Regions from separate parts of the Homo sapiens genome. Here region 2 is linked to region 1. Evidence: promoter capture Hi-C in 16 types of primary human blood cells and fetal thymus (Javierre and others, 2016). All regions are on one chromosome and are shown on one strand. The core of a region is centred on a gene start or on the middle of the fragment in contact, and the rest is flanking DNA. Distances in the headings are between cores, read along the strand shown.

Evidence for each region. Contacts are between HindIII fragments. The CHiCAGO score rates a contact against its expected background, and 5 or more counts as called.
Region 2: a fragment that was not itself captured here is called in contact with the fragment with the promoter of FBRS in region 1 in 1 of 17 cell types (monocytes); the score reaches 5.2 in monocytes.

The regions. Positions count from the first base shown.
Region 1 is chr16:30,654,974-30,660,861 of GRCh38, forward strand. FBRS (fibrosin) reads left to right here and starts at 3,458. Exons shown (of 18, transcript NM_001105079.3): 1 at 3,458-5,004; 2 at 5,290-5,469. The coding sequence starts at 4,546. PRR14 (proline rich 14) reads left to right here. Exons shown (of 12, transcript NM_024031.5): 8 at 1-241; 9 at 378-447; 10 at 529-620; 11 at 895-966; 12 at 1,059-1,440. The coding sequence ends at 1,338. RefSeq lists silencers at 2,874-3,133, 3,164-3,243, 3,294-3,473, 4,294-4,523, 4,594-4,643 and enhancers at 3,724-4,173, 5,854-5,888. The HindIII fragment of the contact is 16,259 bases long and covers 1-5,888 here.
Region 2 is chr16:30,511,252-30,517,510 of GRCh38, forward strand. ITGAL (integrin subunit alpha L) reads left to right here. Exons shown (of 31, transcript NM_002209.3): 25 at 2,520-2,595; 26 at 5,722-5,835. Among named protein-coding and RNA genes, the nearest start is that of MIR4518, 10 kb to the left of the region's middle. The HindIII fragment of the contact is 4,411 bases long and covers 2,457-6,259 here.

The DNA.
Region 1 (5,888 bases), core at 2,208-4,707:
CTGATCTGGGGCCCCCTGGCCCAGGTACCTGCACCTGGCCACCTGCTCCACCCCAACCAAGCCGACCACGGCCGCGGCGGCACACTGTGGGTGGTGGGGAAATGGCCCGAGCCCCGCCACCCCCTCGGCCCTGTCTCCGGAAAGAGGTCTTCCCTCTCGGAGGAGTGGGAGCCTCCCCTTCTCTCACCACATCTTGCTCGTCCACGGCATCCACTTCCTTCTCCGAACCAGCAGAACCCAGGTAGTGCTCTCAAAAAACCCCCTTGAAGCCTGGCTGCAGCCTGGTCCCAGCCTCCTTCCCTGAGTATCCAGTGGGCAGGAGACGGGGGATAATGCAGTGAATCCTGTTTGTCCCTGAGCCTTGACCTTCTTGGCAGGTTGGGTTCAACCAAAGGGAAGGAGCCAAGAGCCTCAAAGGACCAGGTGCTTTCAGAACCTGAGACCAAGGTAGGCATTCAGATCGGGTAGAAGAGACTAGTGGGGGCCTGAGCCCATGTCACTCTTTCACCCTCTGCCCCATTTTTGCAGACCATGGGAAAGGTTTCTCGATTCAGAATACGCAGAACACCAGCCCGTCCTCAGCTAAACCTTACACCAATGGGACTGCCTCGACCAATCAGGTGAGGGGCTCACTGGGCATTGAGCCATCTTGGCCAAACAGATGCAGGCTTATGTCCCCTGAAGTATAGCTTTGTCTCCCCTCAGGGAGCACAGTCCAGCCTGAAAGATTCAATTCGGTGTGGGGATGGTTTGTGCTCAAAATTGCCTGTCTGCCTTATGTAGCACTCCTGGCCCTGACATGTCCCAGAAACTGAAATACAGACCAGGCCTTACCTGTCCCTTCAGGCCCCACTGGCCCAAGGTTTCTCAGTGGCCTCTGCTCTTTGCTCACAGGTTGAACAAGAAGGAGTTCAGCTTGGAAGAAATTTACACCAACAAGAATTACCAATCACCCACAACCAGGAGGTGAGACACTTGGAAGGCTAGAGGGTGGCAGAGGGAAATCTGGAGCTGTGGAGCACCCTGATAAAACCAGCTCCTCTCCCTGCCTTGTTCAGGACCTTTGAGACCATCTTTGAGGAACCCCGGGAGCGCAATGGGACTCTGATTTTCACCAGCTCAAGGAAGCTCCGGCGGGCTGTGGAATTTCGGGACAGCAGCCTTCCTCGATCACGAAGACCGTCCCGTGGGGTCCGGGCTGCAGGGGGCAGGACTGTTCCTCCCAATGTGGCCCCCAGCCCTGATGTGGGCCCCCTGCTCCAGCAGCGGCTGGAGGAGCTAGATGCCTTGCTCCTGGAGGAAGAAACAGTAGATCGGGAGCAGCCCCACTGGACCTAGGTGCCCCATCTGTTGGTCATCCATCCTGAAGGGACAGGAAACCTCCCAGGCAGTTATTTTTTTTTCTCTATATTTCTAGTAAAGTTTTCGATATGTTTCTGATTCTTTTGTATCTCTAGCTGAGTTTAAGATTGATTTGGCTGATGTTTCTACGTTGACCCCCAAAGGTCTGGGAACTGGGGCTGGTGCTAGAGATGGTGACAGGGGTTGGGTACAGAGTACAGGGAGGGGGTGAAGTGGTCACTTGAGATAGATAGATAGATAGATAGATAGATAGATAGATAGATAGATGATAGATATAGATGGAGTTCCGCTCATGTCACTCAGGCTGGAGTACAATGGCACGATCTTGGCTCACTGCAACCTCTGTCTCCCTCATTCAAGCGATTCTCCTGCCTCAGCCTCCCAAGTATCTGGGATTACAGGCGTGCGCTACCACACCCGCTAATTTTTGTATTTTTAGTAGAAACTGGGCTTCACCATGTTGGCCAGGATGGTCTTGAACATCTGACCTCAGGAAATCCGCCTGCTTTGGCCTCCCTAAGTGCTGGGATTACAGGCATGAGCCACCATGCCCGGCCTAGAGATACTCTCTTGCTTAGAGGATTCTCCTGTGTGGAGGGACACTTCTGAATCAGTGCCAGATGATACTGTGACCCTAGACCGTGGTCTGGGTTCTCCCAATTCATTTATATCAAGGAGACTGAAAGGCCTATAGTGGGTCAAGGCCTTGAAGATCAAGATGGCCCTGAATTCCTGCTAACATGCAGGCCAGGACCTGCTGCTGGATTCAAGAGCTACGGCTAGGCCAGGTGCGGTGGCTTACGCCTGTAATCCCAGCGCTTTGGGAGGCCGAGGCAGGTGGATCACAGGAGCCTAGGAGTTCGAGACCAGCTTGGCCAACATGGTGAAACCCCGTCTCCACTAAAAATACAAATATTAGCTGGGTGTCTTGGTGTGTACCTGTAATCCCAGCTACTCAGGAGGCTGAGCCAGGAGAATTCACTTGAACCCGAGAGGCAGAGGTTGTAATGAGCTGAGATCGCACCACTGCACTCCAGCTTAGGGAACACAGCCAGACTCTGTCCCCCCCAAAAAAACAAAACAAAACAAAGAGCTAAGAGTAATGGGCCATAATGAAGCACTCACGACGACTGTCATAGGTGCTTGACCTGCACATGTCCCTGCGACAGGGAATTAGTCATTTTATGGACGAGAAAGCAAGGCAGGCATGTCAGCGCGCTGTCCACTTTTAAAACGGTAACCCGGGCAACCGAAGGCCAGAAATGGCTGTCTCTTTTTTTTTAAGCCAGTCACATTGAGCAGTGGGGTGCATCTTTCATAACTGAGAGGCATCACAGGGCAGTGGCTGACATAGACGTGGCTAGGAGACTACCAGCCCGTCTGTGCGCGCATTCCTTTCCGTCCCAGTAAAATGGGGCTGACAGCATCTCCTTCATGGAATTATTACCAAACGCAGTCACAAACGCGGAGAAGCGCTCATGCAGGTGCAAGGCGTTTTCGAATTGCTAGCACTCGGGACCGCTGCCAGCAGCCGCGCCTGGAAGGGACGCGGCTGCCTGTTAGTGCGGCCGGCGCAGGCGCAGGCACAGCACGCGGCCGCTCGGGCCACCCCGGGCCGCGGAACGACTCGCAAGCAGCCAGCCTGACGGCGGCGCCGCCACGCGCGTGCGCGAGACGCCAGGCTGTCTGTGGGCCGCGCCGAGCGGCGGAAAGGCGGCGATGACTTAACTGGCTGTGGAACGGAACCTCTTGCAGCCGCGCGCCCCCCGGCGGCCAACCGCCCCCAACGCCTCAGGCCCCGCGTCTCCGCCCCTCGCCTCGACGCCATCAGGAGACCGGCCAATAAACAAACAGCAGGAAGAGGCGGGGCCCTGTAGTAACCGCCCCAAACACCTACTTCTAACCAGTCGAGTCACAAGACTGGGGGGAAGGGCGGAGCCAATCCGACGTAACCCAATCCAAGATTTGAGGGCGGTTACATGCACCCACTCCCTCGGGTTTGGCTCCGCCCCTCACCTTGACGTAGCCCTCCCAGCCTATCAACGACTGCGCCCGTTGGGGGTGAGGGGAAGGGGGCGGAGCGTGGGAGGAGGCCGAGAGAGGAAGGAGGCGTAGGCTGAGGAGGAAGAGGGAGGAGGGGTAGGGAAGTCCTGGCGGAGAAGCGCCCTAAGACTCCAAAGGAGACAACAGGAGTTTGTGCTGGAGCTCCCCCGCTGCCCATCGGCCGTTCCGGATCCCCTAAGGCCCAAGTCGGACAGAGACGGAGGAAAGGAGGAAGAGACTTTTATGTCGGCGGACAGGGGAGCTGTACCCGTCACCGTTGCCTCACATCCGGGGCTTTGGAGGGCTGGCCTCGCTGCCCCGCCCCGCCTCGCGCCTTTCATGGCGACCGGAGGCGGAGGCTGGAGGAGCTGGGCCCGGAGGAGGCCCCTTTAAATCTCCTTAAAGGGGTGGCCACTGAACTCGGCGGACTGCAACGCCAGCCTTAAAGGGGAAGCCGCCGAGCAGACGCTGACAAATTGAGAACTGTGCCGTTGGGAGAACTGGGGCGAGTGGGGTTTTTCTTTACGTCCTCCTCCCCCACACACAAGAAGTCTTTTAAATTCAACTTAAAGGGGAAGTGGCCGCTTGTGGAGGACTAGAAACTAACTCCGAGCCCTTAAAGGGACGGCCTGCTGTTAGAAGGACCCTGGACTCCTTAAAGGGGTGGCCTCTTTGAGCCGGAGGACTTGAGACACTTTTAAAGGGGAGGTCTGCGTTTCGGGGCGAGCTTTCGGCCCCTTTTAAAGGGGTGGCCCTTCCTCTTCCTCGGGGAGACTTGCATCGACCCCTGGCAGGGGGTGGCCACCGCACTAGGCCGCCGGACACTGTCGGGTCGTCTTAAAGGGGCCGGGAGCTGGACAACTTGGGGCCTCGCCTTAAAGGGACGGCCGCCCCGTTTTCGCCGTCGCGGCCCCGCCGAGCCCGCAGGGGGGGCCCTCGGGCTTGTCGCCCCGGGGGCGGCGCCGGCTCCCCGGGCCGTGGCCTTGGGGCAAGCTCGGGGCCAGCAGATCCGGCTTTAAAGGAGAAGCCGTGGCCCTCTCGTCACTGTGCAGCCGCCAGCGCCGCGCCTGCGACCCCGGGCCTGCGGACAGGCCGCTTCGGGCCCCGCCGCCTCCGGATGCGGCGCTGAGGGCGGTCGCCATGGAGACGGCAGCGGCCGCGGCCCCGGGTCCGGGCTGGGCAGCAGAGGGGGAGCGCCGACGGCGGCGCTGCTCGCGCCGAGACCGAGACCGGGAGCAGCGGCGCCGCCGAGGTCCAGGCGGCGACGCGCCCCGGGCCCTGTTGGCCGCCCCGCGCGGCTCCTCGTCCTCGTCGTCGCCGCCGCCGCCCGCCAGGCCTTGGTCGTCAGCTTCGTCTGGAGAGCGGCCTGGGGGCCCGAGACGCCGGCGGCCCCGTCCGAGACCTCGACCCCCGCGACCCCGAGCTCGGAAGCGGCCTGCCGGCTCGGGCAGCCGCGGGGAGGAAGAGGAGGAGGAGGAGGAGGAGGGGGGCGCAGACGACGGCGAAGCCGAGGAGGAGCCTGAGGAGGAGGAAGAGGAGGAGGAGGACTTGATCGATGGCTTCGCCATCGCCAGCTTCGCCACCCTCGAGGCCTTGCAGGTGGGGCCTAATGGGGCTAGGAGACTTTGGGGGTTTCCGAGGGGCAGCAAGGAGGGGGCAGTGCCCCTAGTGGGTGGAGTTGAGGGGGGAATGCTGGCACCCCAAACCAGAGCAACCGGCTCCTCTGGCCAGGCCTCTGCCCCGCCCTGGGGTGGGAGGAGGTAGAGCTCGTCTCTGGGGACCCGGTTTCCCGGCCCGAGGGGTACTTCGGCAACCTGGTCACCCCTAGAGGGGTTGGGAGCTTGCCCTTTTCCATCTATCTCAGCCCCACCTCCTCCTCCACAGAAGGATGCATCTCTTCAGCCCCCAGAGCGACTGGAACATCGGCTGAAGCATTCTGGGAAGCGGAAAAGGGGGGGCTCCAGTGGGGCCACCGGGGAGCCAGGGGACAGCTCTGATCGAGAGCCTGGCCGGCCCCCTGGGGATCGGGCCCGAAAATGGCCCAATAAGCGGAGAAGAAAAGAGGTGAGGTTGTCCCTTAAAACTCTTTAGGCAGAATGTATTTCCCACAGCCCCGTTTTTCATCAGCAACGCCACTGCCCCTTGTAAACAGAGACCCCAGTTTCTAAGGGCAAAGAGGCAAGCAGGGCAAATTTGAGCCCTTACTCATCCGGGTCTGACGAAGGCCTGTCTACAGTCAGGTGCACCTCCTTTTGCCTGGTTCTGTGTCTACTTCAAACGTTTTGATAATTCAGAGAGGCGTCAAAGGAATATAGTTGGGTCGTAAATTAATTGTGGTTCCTGCCCTTCCTCGAGGTGGTGGCAGTCCAGCAGAAAAGAAATAGCCAGCAAGCAAACACCTAGACCTTAATTTGAGAAGCTACAGAAGACAAAGATGGGGAGAGATGCTACAGAAACCCACATGAGGAAGCCGCTTGTGCTGC
Region 2 (6,259 bases), core at 3,412-5,911, 140 kb before region 1:
CTTGGGGTAATTAGAACTGATTCCAGCCACAACCCCAAAAGTTTTCAACATTCCAAAATGTGAGGGCCATGGAAGAGCTCAGGGAAGGATTAGCATTTACTGATGGAAGAAAAAGCTCATTGAACACTAATTTTATGTCAGACTGAGGGCCAGCTGCACTGCGCAGTTGCTGACATTGCCTGGAGCCCTCAGCACCTCTGTGAGGCAGCTGTGCCGCTCTCCATTTTACCAATGAACAAGCTGAGGCTCAGAGAAGGCCGGCACTTACCCAAGGTCCAATAGCTGGAAGTACTAAAGCCAGGGTCTGAGCTTCAGCCTGTCTGACTCCAAAGGCCCAGCCAAGCTCCTGACTGTTTCAGTCACCCTAGATTCTCTCCCCTCCTGGGGGCCGATAATGCCAGGAGAGATAGGAGAAAAGTTATCACAATACCCCTTGCCCTCAGGGAGCTTACAGTCAAGTGGGAGAGCCCAAACTCATGCACACACAGAGTCAGTGACTCTCAGAACACAGTAGCAGGAAGGAACCATGGGGATCGCTAGTTGGGTTTGTAACTGAACTCTGGTCTGGCTGCTTGTTACTTGAAAGCCAGACTTAAGAAGCAAGAGTTGGTGGGAGGAAAGGCAGGTTTATCTGGAAAGCCAGGCAATTGAGAAGACAGTGAACTAGTGTTCTAAAGGACCATCTGTAATGTTAAGGGTAGGGGGAAGAGAAAGGGGTTAAGATCAAGAGGTAACTTAGCACAGACATCTGGGCACCAGAGAGGATACAAGGAGGTTGGGAACTTCTTGGTCCTTGGTCAGGTCACAGTGCTTCTATAAATCTTTAACAAAACATAGTTAGTTGTTTACAAACGTCCCCTTTAATGCCAGACTTAGTTTTAAAAACTACATGATAGCTGTTTTTGCATGTTATCTCAGTGCTCTAAAATTATCCTAGCCTATGGGCAGGAATGGGTAAAGGCCTCTTCAACAAAAATGGAGGGAGTTATGTCCGTTTTTTGCTATTTCAAAAAAACCTGTTACAGGTCTTCTCGCTTATAGAAAAGGAAACTTGGCCAGGTGTGGTGGCTCACACCTGTAATCCTAGTAATTTGGGAGGCCAAGGTGGGTGGATCACTTGAGGTCAGTAGTTCAAGACCAGCCTGGCCAACATGGTGAAACCTTGTCTCTACTAAAAATACAAAAATTAGCTCGGCGTTGTGGCAGGCACCTATAATCCCAGCTACTCAGGAGGCTGAGGCAGGACAATTGCTTGAACCCGGGTGGAGGAGGTTGCAGTGAGCCGAGATCATGCCACTGCCCTCCAGCCTGAGTGACAGAGTGAGACCCTGTGTGAAAAAAAAAAAAAAGGAAACTCAAAATCGAGTGGCTTTTTCCAGTTGGCTCAGTTACAGAAGGACAGAGAAGGACGGGGACAGTGTCTGAGCTCAGGTCTCTAGTGCTTTTTAAATTTTTTTTATTTTTTAAGAGACAGAGTCTCGCTCTGTTGCCCAGGCTGGAGTGCAGTTGCACAATCTCGGCTCACTGCAACCTCCTCCTCCAGGGTTCAAGCAATTCTCCTGCCTCAGCCTCCCGAGTAGCTGGGACTACAGGTGCCTGCCACCATGCCCAGCTAATTTTTGTATTCTTAGTAGAGACAGGGTTTCGCCATGTTGGCCAGGCAGGTCTTAAACTCCTGAACTCAGGTGATCTACCTGCCTCAGCCTCCTGAAGTGCTGGGATTACAGGCGTAAGCCACCGCGCCTGGCCTCCAGTGCTTTTGAACATCAATGCCACACAGTATGATACTGACATGAAATTAGAGCCAGGAAAGATGAGTGTGGGTTGGGGGAGAAATGGAAGAGTTCGTGGAGAAAGTGCGGCTTGGACTGGGGTCTGGAGGATGAGGCCATTAGGGGAAGAGCTAAAAAGGAACCTAGATGTCCTCATCAGAGACCATGGCCCAGACAAAGGCAAGGAGGGAGGAAGCAGTGGGGCATACCTGGGGGACAGGGATTGGGCAGGATTAGCCAAGGGCAGGTGTGTGCAGGGGAGCAGTGAGGAGACTGCCTGGACATGGGAGGCTTTGGACCTGACCCTCCCTCGCAGTAGGGGGCCGTTGGCCAATGCTGAGCAGGTGAGTGGCAGGACTAGAGAGTGATGTTGGGAAGGTCACCCAGCAGTGTGTGTTGGAAGGATGGGTGCGAGGGGCATCAGCAGTGGATACGATTATCTAGGAGATGAGCAGGGCCCAGAGGACAGTGGAGACACTGGTGAGGTGGCGCGCAGTGGGGAGGACATAGCCTCCACTGGACACACTTCCCTGGGCTCCAGTCCTGTCTCTCCACTGTGGAGAAGCTTTGGACAAGAGGCTGGCCCTGTCCAGGAGCCTTAGTTTCTGGGAAAGAGCAGGTTGTGGTAGGGATTGAATGAGATGGTATCTGTGCCGTTCCTAGCACAGTGGCTGGGCGCTCAGAAGCTTCCTGGAGCCCGGGTTGCTGTCACTTCGTTCTTCCATCGCTGCCCTTCTCTCTCCGCAGCCAAGAAGACTCCACACTCTATGTCAGTTTCACCCCCAAAGGCCCCAAGATCCACCAAGTCAAGCACATGTACCAGGTATGAATCCCAATGTGGAAGGTCCTTATAGGTCACACATTCATTCTTTATCCCGGGGACTGAGGATGCAGGCACCAAGTAGACACAGTACTCATCCTAGCCATCCAACTGTTCAATAATCCTTTCTCTAGAGTGTCACAGCCTCCACTTACAGGCTTCCAGCAGCAGCATATGCTAACTCCTTTCTGCCACTGGATGCATTATTTCAAGAATCACAGGACTTGAGAGCAAGGAGGATGCTGAGAGAGAACCTGCTTTTTCATAACAACACTGAATGAGCTACTATTCTTTGCTCTGTTTGTTACCCAGGCTTGAGTGCAGTGGTGCAATCTCGGCTCACTGCAAACTCTGCCTCCCAAGTTCAAGCAATTCTCCTGTCTCAGCCTCCCAAGTAGCTGAGATTACAGGCATCCACCACCATGCCCAGCTAATTTTTTTTTTTTTTTTTGAGACGGAGTCTCACTCTGTCACCCAGGCTGGAGTGCAGTGGCACGGTCTCAGCTCACTGCAACCTCCGCCTCCTGAGTTCAAGCCATTCTCCTACCTCAGCCTCCCAAGTAGCTGGGATTACAGGCATGTGCCACCATGCCCGGCTAATTTTTGTATTTTTAGTAGAGATGGGGTTTTACCATGTTGGCCAGGCTGGTCTTGAACTCCTGACCTCGTGATCTTCCCCCCTCGTGGCCTCTCAAAGTGCTGGGATTACAGGCATGAGCCACCGCACCCGGCCCTATGCCCAGCTAACTTTTGTATTTTTTGTAGAGGCGGAGTTTTGCCCTGTAGGCCAGGCTGGTCTGGAACTCCTGACTTCAAGTGATCTACCCACCTCAGCCTCCCAAAGTACTAGGACTACAGGCATGAGCCACCACACCTGGCCTATTCTAAGTTAGGTATTTAGCTAGGTGCTGGCATCCTGCCCAGTCTCCAAACCCAGGTTCTGTGCCTGGTGCTTTATTTTTACCTTTTCTTTTTTCTTTTCTTTTTTTTTTTTTTTTTGAGGTAGAGTCTTGCTCTGTCACCCAGGTTGGAGTGCAGTGGCGTAATCTCAGCTCACTGCAACCTCCGCCTCCTGGATTCAAGCAATTCTCCTGCTTCAGCCTTCTGAGTAGCTGAGATTACAGGCGCCCACCACCACGCCAGGCTAATGTTTGTATTTTTAGTAGAGAGAGGGTTTCATCATGTTGGCCAGGCTGGTCTCAAACTCCTGACCTCAGGTGATCCGCCCACCTCGGCCTCCCAAAGTGCTGAGATTACAGGCGTGAGCCACTGTGCCTGGCCTGGTCTCAACATATTCTAAACCAAATTTGCTGTCTTCCCCTAAGCCAGCATCTCCTCTGGCTTGCGTGGAATCTTTTGAAAGCACCATCTCTTTCTCAAGGAAAACTTAACGTGTCTGGGTGAATTTCTCCTTCCTCCTGCTTTGTCCCACTGCCTGCTGGAGTCTGGTTGTCTGTGTCCTTTTTCTGCTACCGCCCAGACCCAATTCCTCACCTTCTTGCAACTGGACTATTGAGAGAGGCTCCCAACATGGGCCATGACCCGCCTCTCCCAGCCTCTTTCCAGCTCATGCCTGCAGGGGATGGACCTCCCTGGAGCCACTCTCTTCCTCTGCCACCTTCTGTGACTTCCCACTGCCTCCTTGATGCTGCTCCAACTCCTCACTCTCAAGCCTTCCAGGCCCCATAGTGTGATCTTGGGCTTCCTTTCCAGCCTCAGCTCCTGTTCTCCTTCCCAGGCACCCTCCTTCCAGCCACATCCCTCTCACCTGGTGCCATCCTGGCTCCCCACATGTCTCTTCTTGGATGCCCTCTCCCACCTTCATCTGTTAAAATCCTGTCCATCTGGTCAGGCGCGGTGGCTCACACCTGTAACCCCAGCACTTTGGGAGGCCCAGGTGGGCAGATCACCTGAGGTCAGGAGTTCAAGACCAGCCTGGCCAACATGATGAAACCCCATCTCTACTAAAAATACAAAAATTAGCTAGGTGTGGTGGTGTGTGCCTGTAGTCCCAGCTACTGGGGAGGCTGAGGCAGGAGAATCGCTTGAACCTGGAAGGTGAAGGTTGCAGCGAGCTGTGATCGTGCCATCGCACTCCAGCCTGGGTGACAGAGTGATATTCTGTCTAAAAAAAAAAAAAAAATCCTGTCCATCTTTCACAGTCAAATTCAAATACTGCCCCTGACATTTGGCCTTTTTAATTTAACTGGTATTTCAAGTGTCCACAAATGTTCGTTGAATGAATAAATGATAGAATCCTTCTAATTTGATACATTTCCCTGCTTCCTGAGACATTGTTAGTGCCACTTCTGTGTCACTTTCTTACACATATCTGAGTCTCCCAGCCTTAACACAGGTAGTTCTTTTTTTAATAAAAGGTGCTCAGAAATTTTTTTTTTTTTTTGAGACGGAGTCTCACTCTGTCGCCCAGGTTGGAGTGCAGTGGCATGATCTCGGCTCACTGCAACCTTCACCTCCTGGGTTTAAGTAATTCTCCTGCCTCAGCCTCCAGAGTACCCAGCACTGTAGGATTGTGCCACCACACCTGGCTAATTTTTGTATTTTTAGTAGAGACGGGGTTTCACCATCTTGGTCAGGCTGGTCTCAAACTCCTGACCTCAAGTGATCTGCCCACCTCAGCCTCCCAAAGTGCTGGGATTACAGGTGTGAGCCACCACACTAGGCACTGTGTCAAGCAGTAGGGGATTGGAGGTGGAGTAAGAATGGCTCCTGTCCTCAGGGAGTTCATGGTCTAGTGGAGATGCAGACATCCAAGCAGATCCTTTGCCGTCCTGCTGGGGACGCAGAGCACACTGTGGGAGCCCAGGAGGGGGAGCTGCCCTGTCCTTGGGGAGTCAGCGAAGCCTTCAGAGATAATATTAGAGCAGGCCCTTGCAGGGTGTGTGAGAGTGTGCTGGGCGGAGAAAGCTGGAAGAGCATGGAAGCCACACTGCAAGGCCCTGAGGACGGAAGCTGGCCATGCCCAGTCACTGGACACTGCCTAACCGACAAGGGCCCTGGGGACTCAGCCAATGAGGACTGGAAGAGGCGTGCAAGGGCACACAGGGTCTGGGGGGCAGCTGGGGTGGCTGGCATTCAGGGCTCTGCATCCCTTGTCCTCTGTGCCAGGTGAGGATCCAGCCTTCCATCCACGACCACAACATACCCACCCTGGAGGCTGTGGTTGGGGTGCCACAGCCTCCCAGCGAGGGGCCCATCACACACCAGTGGAGCGTGCAGATGGTGAGTGCTGCCTGTAGAGGGAGGGTCTACCCTCCTCAGGTCTTGGGGGTGAGTGCATTTGAGGGTACAGAGGGCAGGGCTTGGCCAGGTGCGGTGGCTCTGCCTCCCAAATCCCAGCACTTTGGGAGGCTGAAGTGGGAGAATCCATTGAGGCCAGGATTTTGAGACCAGCATGGGCAACATAGCACAACTCCAGTCTCTACAAACAAATTTTAAAATTATCCAGGCATGCATGGTGGCCCGTGCCCGTGGTCTCAGCTACTCAGGAGGCAGAGGCGGGAGGATCACTTGAACCTAGGAGTTTGAGGCTGCAGTGAGCTATGATGGCACCACTGCACTCCAGCCTCGGTGACAGAACAAGACCCTGTCTCTAACAAAGAAAAAAAAATCAAGGGGGCAAGGCTGGGTGTATGGAGAGTAAGGA